Regions from separate parts of the Homo sapiens genome. Here region 1 is linked to region 2. Evidence: promoter capture Hi-C in human tissues and cell types (Jung and others, 2019). All regions are on one chromosome and are shown on one strand. The core of a region is centred on a gene start or on the middle of the fragment in contact, and the rest is flanking DNA. Distances in the headings are between cores, read along the strand shown.

The links. The method cuts DNA at HindIII sites, captures the fragments that hold promoters and counts their contacts. A contact is called where the count stands out against the background at its distance.
Region 1: a fragment that was not itself captured here is called in contact with the fragment with the promoter of HIGD1B in region 2 in 1 of the 25 tissues and cell types used here (heart right ventricle).

What each region holds. Positions count from the first base shown.
Region 1 is chr17:45,027,163-45,031,218 of GRCh38, forward strand. It overlaps DCAKD (dephospho-CoA kinase domain containing), which reads right to left. Exons shown (of 5, transcript NM_001288655.2): 4 at 2,930-3,017. Among named protein-coding and RNA genes, the nearest start is that of DCAKD, 22 kb to the right of the region's middle. RefSeq lists an enhancer at 3,345-3,394. The HindIII fragment of the contact is 7,935 bases long and covers 1-4,056 here.
Region 2 is chr17:44,845,215-44,849,467 of GRCh38, forward strand. It overlaps HIGD1B (HIG1 hypoxia inducible domain family member 1B), which reads left to right and starts at 2,669. Exons shown (of 3, transcript NM_016438.4): 1 at 2,669-3,038; 2 at 4,040-4,174. The coding sequence starts at 2,939. The HindIII fragment of the contact is 5,766 bases long and covers 1-4,253 here.

The DNA.
Region 1 (4,056 bases), core at 1,057-3,556, 180 kb after region 2:
AGACCCAATCTCTACAAAAAATAAAAAAATTAGTCAGATGTGATGCTGCATGCCTGCAATCCCAGCTACTCAAGAGGCTGAGGTGGAAGACTGCTTGAGCCCAGGAGTTTGAGGCTATAGTTAGCTGTGATTGTGCCACTGCACTCTAGCCTGAGCCCTGTCTCAAAAAAAAGAAACCAGCATGAAATCATGTTTTGGTATAATCACACTTCAGGAGATGTCCTAAGTAATTTCAAATGCACCAGGGGTAGTCTTTCAGTTAAAGAAATCCACAAGGGAGTCCTTATTTTTGTAAAGCCTAGATCCCTTTGGTGAAAAGCATCACCACCTCTCTGGCATCTCTCAAGAGTTATACACCCACACCCACTGAAAGCAGGGCATGAGTGGCACCCAGGACTCTGGCAAAGGCTCCTCTGGCCGGTGAGTGGGGCTGAAGGTCTCCTGGAGAGCACACACAATCAACAAAGCCCCACTCACCCACCAAAACCCATGGCCACCTCTGCTCTCGGCAAACAGACCAACCTCAAAGAACAGCACAGGAAGGGCCGGGCGCAGTGGCTCATGCCTGTAATCCCAGCACTTTGGGAGGCCGAGACAGGTAGATCACAAGGTCAGGAGTTCAAGACCAGCCTGACCAACATGGTGAAACCCTGTCTCTACTAAAAATACAAAACTTAGCCGGGCATGGTGGCGTGCGCCTGTAATCCCAGCTAATCAGGAGGCTGAGGCAGGAGAATCACTTGAACCTGGGAGGCAGAGGTTGCAGTGAGCTGAGATCGCGCCACTGTACTCCACCTTGGGTGACAGAGTGAGACTCCATCTCAATTTAAAAAAAAAAAAAAAAAGCAAAGCACAGGAAGGACAAATGGCCAGAGGTGGGCGCGGGGTCATCTGGTGAATGCACATGCAGGTGTCGGCCCCTGCTGTCTTCTCATCTACACTCTAAGATCCTTTTTTTTTTTTTGAGATGGAGTCTCGCTCTGTCGCCCAGGCTGGAGTGCAGTGGTGCGATCTCAGCTCACTCCAAGCTCCGCCTCCCAGGTTCACACCATTCTCCTGTCTCAGCCTCCCGAGTAGCTGGGACTACAGGCGCCCACCATGATGCCCAGCTAATTTTTTTTGTATTTTTAGTAGAGACAGGGTTTAACCGTGTTAGCCAGGATGGTCGCGATCTTCTGACCTCATGATCCGCCCACCTCGGCCTCCCAAAGTGCTGGGATTACAGGTATGAGCCACCACACCCGGCCTTTTTTTTTTTTTTTTTGAGACGGAGTTTCATTCTTGTTGCCCAGGCTGGAGTGCAATGGTACGATCTTGGCTCATTGCAACCTCTGCCTCCTGGGTTCAAGTGATTCTCCTGCCTCAGCCTCCCAAGTAGCTGGGATTACAGGCATGCACCACCATGCCTGGCTAATTTTTGTATTTTTAGTAGAGATGGGGTTTCTCCATGTTGGTCATGCCGCTCTCGAACTCCTGACCTCAGGTGATCCACCTGCCTCGGCCTCCCAAAGTGCTGGGATTATAGGCATGAGCCACTGCACCCAGCCTTTTTTTTGAGATGGAGTTTTGCTCACTCTTGTCGCCCAGGCTGGAGTGCAATGGTGCAATCTCTGCTCACTGCAACTTCCACCTCCTGGGTTCAAGCGATTCTCTGGCCTCAGCCTCCCAAGCGGCTGAGATTACAGGTGCCCGCCACAACACCGGGCTAGTTTTTATATTTTTAGTAGAGATGGGGTTTCACCATGTTGGCCAGGCTGGTCTCGAACTCCTGACCTCAGGTAATCCACCCACCTCGGCCTCCCAAAGTGCTGGGATTACAGGCGTGAGCCACTGCACCCGGCCTCTAAGATCCTTTAAAAAAAATGTTTTTATCCCTAAATACAAAGCTCCAATCGTGCTACTAAGGCAAAGAGAATTCCAGGTCTTCGTGGGGTTTGCCTGACCTTAGTTAGCCTCTCAAACAGGGAATGAAGAACCCAAAGAGGCTGCAGGTTTACTCACATAAGGCAGCACGGCCCAGTGCAGGAGCTGAGAGGATGCCTGCGTCCCTGCATTGGGCTCAAGGGATTCAGACTGGGCTTTCAACGACAGCCCATGGGGACCCAGGGGGAAAGGCAGGGGGATTTTCAGGGCACTGAGCACCACAGGCTCCGCCTCCAGCGTGCTGGGAGCCTCCAATGCCTTAGGCCCTTGAGGGCCAACCTATGCCCAAAATACCAGCAGAGCCAAGTGCCCACCTATGTGTCTGCTGTACTTGTGGGTGGCATCCGGGAAGCTTCTGGGTAGCAGAGATACCCTGCGGACTCATCTACTTTCACCCCACTGGGACAGGGACTCATTTTCCCCCCACAGGTTGATCCTCCTGTTTGTCAAACCTGGATTCTGGTTGGCTCCGTGTCCTGGGGAATTCTGAGAACAAAGTGCCTTCCTTAGCTGGGCTGACAGTCCCTTCCACGAAACCTTCTGTTCGTAACAGGTGTTGCCAAAGGGTGACCCTGGACACATTCTGTAACTGCCCCCTCTTTAATTTTATCTTCAGTAATAGGAATATCAACACCTGTCCTGACCACCTCCCACTGAGAGGTAAACTGTGCAAAGTAATAAAGGTGCTACAGGAGGAAGAAGGAGCCACTGAGTAACAGTGGCCCAGGGCGAGGCCAGGCATCTGGGCTGAAGTGCCTGCAATGGTCAGCGGGGGAGCGCTCCCCAAACACTAGAGAAGCCCGCGGGCTGTCCCTTCCCACACCTGCCCCCAGGACTATCCGCGTCAGGCACAAAGGTTGGTTTCTACAGACCCTGAGCACTGCTGCCCAAACCCCCATGCCTCTTGGCCGCCCCGTGGGGAAAGGGCAAAGTGCAAAATGATGTGGGCTGTTTCCCAGATACCCCCATGGTCCTCCCTTCCAGCCAGGGCATGCTACACACTCACCAGTATACTACCACGGTGTGCTTCATGTACTTGAGCAACTTCTTGGTCTCAAACAGCAGGGGGATATCCAGAATCACGTAGCGGTATCCTGGGGAGAGGTTGGAAATCCCCCAAGTTCAATTCTGCAAGCGCACACTGAGGACTGATGATATGCTGGGCCCCACCGTCCAGAGCGCCCAGCAGAGGGGCAGGCCTTCCAAGGACACACATACCCTGCACACTGGCCGGTTCCAATGCCGTGCAGAACAGAAGGCTGCAGAAAATTATTTCTGGATAGCTGATCAGGGAAGACCTTGTAGAAGGGCTGGCACTTGTGCTGGCCTTGAAAAGTGGGGGGCAGGTCTTTTGATACTTGAAAATGAGAAGGTGAAGGTGAGGATTCCACGAATGAGAACCACCACAGCACAGGGAGAGGGAGGCTCTACTGTGCGGGCTGAAGCAGAGGCCTCAGGCCGTGTGAGGCAAGGAGGTGATCAGGGCAGGCACTAAGGGTTTAGTTCACCTTGATCTTAAATCTCAAGTTGTTATTTCTCAGAAACAAACAAACAAACAAACAAAACACCCAAAAGATAGGTTCTCCCCAAAGAGCCAGGTGCAGGCCCAGCCCTGCTGACAAGAGCCAAGGTGGGCTGTCTCTACCAACTCTCCATGAGAGGCTCACGTTGGGGCGGCAGCAGCAGAAAGAAGCTGCTTCTCCCATCAGAGGCAGACCTACAGCCAGGGTAAGGCCTGGATCTGGAGTCAGAGCGGGCAGTTATGCCTAAAACTGTATTACACTCCTGCAGTGTAAAAGGCACTGGCTGGACCTCCCACCACAAGCCAAGGCCAGTCAAGGGCAGCACCCCCACCCACTGTGAGTGAGCACATCCGTAGGCTGCTGTGGGCTACACGCTCCTCGTTCTTTTTAGGTCAGTGACCCCTGTGCATGTGTACAAAGCTGGGAGGGCTCCAGGAGAGCAAGAAGGGTAAGAGATAGGAAAATGCTTCTCTGCCCAGAGACCCCTGGCCTGGCTGGGGCAGGAGACTGCACCCCTGGAGCATCCCACTCCAAACACTTCCAAGCACAGAACCAGACACACATCACACCAATTCCAAGGGTGTCACGGGAAACTTGCACTCAAAGTGAT
Region 2 (4,253 bases), core at 1,419-3,918:
GCCATTGCACTCCAGCCTGGGCAACAAGAGTGAAACTCCGTCTCAAAAAAAAAAAAAAAAAGAAAGAAATATACTGAGTACAGAAGAGCCCTAATCCTGATCACTGTCATCCCTGCAACCTGAGTGAGCATCACCCCATAGGTAGTATAAAGAGTTCTGGAAGCTGGGCCCTGTAGCTTCCACCTTTAATCCCAGTACTTTGGGAGGCCAGTTCTGAGACCAGCCAGGGTAACATGGTAAAACTGTCTCTACCAAAAATACAAAAATGAGCCAAGTGTGGTGGTATGTGCCCGTGGTCCCAGCTATTTAGGAGGCTGAGATGGGAGGGTTGCTTGAGCCTGGGAGTATGAGGCTGCAGTGAGCCAAGATCACACAGCCTGGGTGACAGAGGGAGACCCCATCTCAAAAACAAAACAAAACAAAAAACCCCAAAAACTAGCTGGGTGTGGTGGCTCATGCTTGTAATCCCAGCACTTTGGGAGGCTGAGCCGGGTGGATCACAAGGTCAGGATTTCGAGACCAGCCCGGCCAACATGGTGAAACCCCGCCTCTACTAAAAATAAAAAAATTAGCTGGGTATGGTGGCACATGCCTGTAATCCCAGCTACTCGGGAGGCTGAGGCAGGAGAATCACTTGAACCTGGGAGCGGAGGTTACAGTGAGCCGAGATCGTGCCACTGCACTCCAGCCTAGGTGACAGAGCAAGACTCCATCTCGGAAAAAAAAAAAAATCCCAAACCAAAAGACAGCCTAGAGAGTCTGTCTCTCACAACTAGGGTATTTTATTTACATCCCACATTGTTCATAAGAGTATCCGAGGGAGTGTAACTTGGGGGACCCAGGCTTTCTACTCATCCTTGTTCCTGTATCTCCATCTCCGTTCTCCTCATCAAGCCTGTCTCTGATCCAGCCACTTAATTCCATGGGAATTAAAAGACTGAATCTAGTTAGGGGCTCCCCTCCATTTGGTCTTTCCTTACTTTCCAGTGCCTGGAGCTTTGGCTTGGGACTCAGCAGACTGGGGGTTAAGACCGATCCCCTGTCCTTTCCCCTCCCCTCTCCATCCCTGACTTCAAAGTTTTCATAAAGCCCAAGTCACTGCTTCCCTGACCCCATAGTGGCAGCTCCATCTCAGCTTTTGGTCGGTTCAAAACAGCAGACGCTGAGCCCTGGCCTGGCCGCCCGTTCTCCTCGTTCTAGCCATCTCTTAGGGTAAGCACCAGCATGCCAACGACCTGGGGGGCCACCAGTCCTTGCTCCTCCAGGAGAGGAGGGCTAACTAGGATAGAAGCTGACTCAAGGGCAGGCACAGTGGTTCATGCCTGTAATCCCAGAACTTTGGGAGGCTGAGGTGGGCAGATCGCCTGAGACCAGGAGTTCAAGATTGGCTGGGCGACATGGCAAAACTGTCTCTACAAAAAATACAAAAATTAGCTGAGCGTGGTAGCATGCACCTGTAGTCCCAGCTACTTGAGAGGCTGAGGTGGAAGGACTGCTTGAGTCTGGAGGGTCAAGCTTGCAGGGATTGACACTGCACTCCAGCCTGAGTGACAAAGTGAGACCCTGCCTAAAAAAAAAAAAAAAGAAGAAAAAGAAAAGAGAGTTTGCCGTATGGTTAGGCTTAGAAGGTATCCCATTGGACAGGGCACGGTGGCTCATACCTGTAATCCCTGCACTTTGGGAAGCCGAGGTGGGCGGATCAAGAGGTCAGGAGTTCAAGACCAGCCTGGCTATCAGGGTAAGACCCCGTCTCTACTAAAAAAATACAAAAAATTAGCTGGGCATGGTACACACCTGTAATCCCAGCTACTTGGGAGGCTGAGGCAGAATTGCTTCAACCAGGACCTGGGAGGCGGAGGTTGCAGTGAGCCGAGATGGCACCACTGCACTCCAGCCTGGGCTACAGAGCGAAACTCCGTCTCAAAAAAACAAAAAAGGGCCGGGCGCGGTGGCTCACGCCTGTAATCCCAGCACTTTGGGAGGCCGAGGCAGGTGGATCATGAGGTCAGGAGATCGAGACCATCCTGGCTAACAAGGTGAAACCCCGTCTCTACTAAAAATACAAAAAATTAGCCGGGCGCGGTGGCGGGCGCCTGTAGTCCCAGCTACTCGGGAGGCTGAGGCAGGAGAATGGCGTGAACCCGGGAAGCGGAGCTTGCAGTGAGCCGAGATTGCGCCACTGCAGTCCGCAGTCCGGCCTGGGCGACAGAGCGAGACTCCGTCTCAAAAAGAAGGCATCCCATTGGCAGAACCCTTGTTTCCAGCCCAGGGATGAAGGTAGCCAGTTGGTAATTGTGAAGAACCTGCCTGGAAAGAGATGGACCTGGAAAAACAGGAGCAGCTCAGGAACCAGAATGTGTTCCTTAGTACTCATGTGCAAAATATATGCTAAATTACATGCAAATCAATGTCCAATCATTATAATCTCTGGCAATTTGGTAACTAATGCTGTTACACTATCTGGTCTAGGACATTTCTGGCTCCCTGGGGCCAGATCCTGCTCTGTAGCTCCCACAGGAGAAACCATCACAGACCAAAGGCCAGCGGGGGCCCCAGCACTCAAGGACTGTTTCTCCCACCACCATCTGTGGACTTTTCCAGCTGTTTTTCTTGGCCCAAGGATCACACCCATAGGGATGCAGATGGGGGAAGGGGAAGCTGAGAAAGCAGTGAAGACAGAATGAGCTGGGGAAGAGGCAGATGGTAGGAAATGGAGACGGAGAAATGGCACTAATGGCCCAGCCACCTGAGATGGGATACCTGGGAGGGACATCTTTTCAAGTAGAGGCTGTGTTGGGGCATGGTGAGAGAGGGTCTTAGCAGGTAACCTTCCTTTCCTCTCCAGACTGAGGAATCAGAGTTCTGATTGTGGAGTGCCTCTCTCTAGGACGGGGCTGCAGCATAGGAGTCTCAGCTGCTTACATCCAGGTCCAGGATTATGTCTGCTAACAGACGCTGGTGGGTACCACCTGACGACGAAGACTGTGTGTCTGAGAAGCTCCTGAGGAAGACTCGGGAATCTCCACTGGTGCCTATAGGTAAGTGAAGAAAGGAATGGGGTGCCGAGTAGGAGGCCTTCTCTGTCATGTCTCCTGGTACCCTCCAAAGAGAATGAAGCAGAGGTCAGAAAACTCAAGTGGTCCTACTCACGGAACAAGGGAAACAACAGCAAAGGTGCCAAGGGGCAAACCCTTACAATGAAATCAGGACGTCTGGATGGGTGGAGGTGGCAGCCAACTGAGTACATGGGATATGAGGAACCTGGAGCACCAACACCAAAGTGGGAAGGGTCAGAAGAACACCTTGGGGTCCCCCAGGGCTTCCTTCCTTATGGCCCTGGTAGAGTAGGAAAACAGCTGTACCAGGAGGTGGGAGCCAGCAGTGTGGCTCAAGGGCCCAGGGCGGAGCAAATTGGTGGGGAGGGGCTGTGTCGTGGTGATCAGCTATTTGTATCTGGGGGAGGGGCATCACTGGTGGTGATCAGCTATTTGTATATGGGGGAGGGGTGTCACGGGAGGGAGGCAGCCACTTTGAAAATGCCATTGAAGGGCAACAACTCAATATATATATATATATTTTTGAGATGGAGTTTCACTCGTTGCCCAGGCTGGAGTGCAATGGCACAGTCTCGGTTCACCACAACCCCTGCCTCCTGGGTTCAAGTGGTTCTCCTGCATCAGCCTCCTGAGTAGTTGGGATTATAGGCATGCACCACCACGCCCGGCTAATTTTGTACTTTTAGTAGAGACTGGGTTTCTCCATTTTGGTCAGGCTGGTCTCAAACTCCCAACTTCAGGTGATCCACCTGCCTCAGTCTCCCAAAAGTGCTGGGATTACAGGCGTGAGCCACCATGCCCCGGCAACAACTCAATATTCTAATGATCCCCCTAGGTCCCCCGCAACGCCCACCCCCCGCCACCAGATGCTGCATAAAACCAGCTGTTTATCCAGATGCCCAGCCTGCCTGGTAAGGTATCTCTCATCAGGGGAGTGCTGTGCATTGTGGCTGTGGCCCAGGGGCTGTGTTCTCTGCCCACAGGCTTAGGAGGCTGCTTGGTGGTAGCAGCATACAGGATTTACCGGCTGAGGTCTCGTGGTTCCACCAAGATGTCCATACACCTGATTCACACCCGAGTGGCAGCGCAGGCCTGTGCAGTGGGTGCAATCATGCTAGGTGAGTAGCTTTGTGGGGTCGCAGAATGAGGGCAAAACCGATTATGCAGTTTGTAGGTCTTTAAGTCCCAACAATTAAA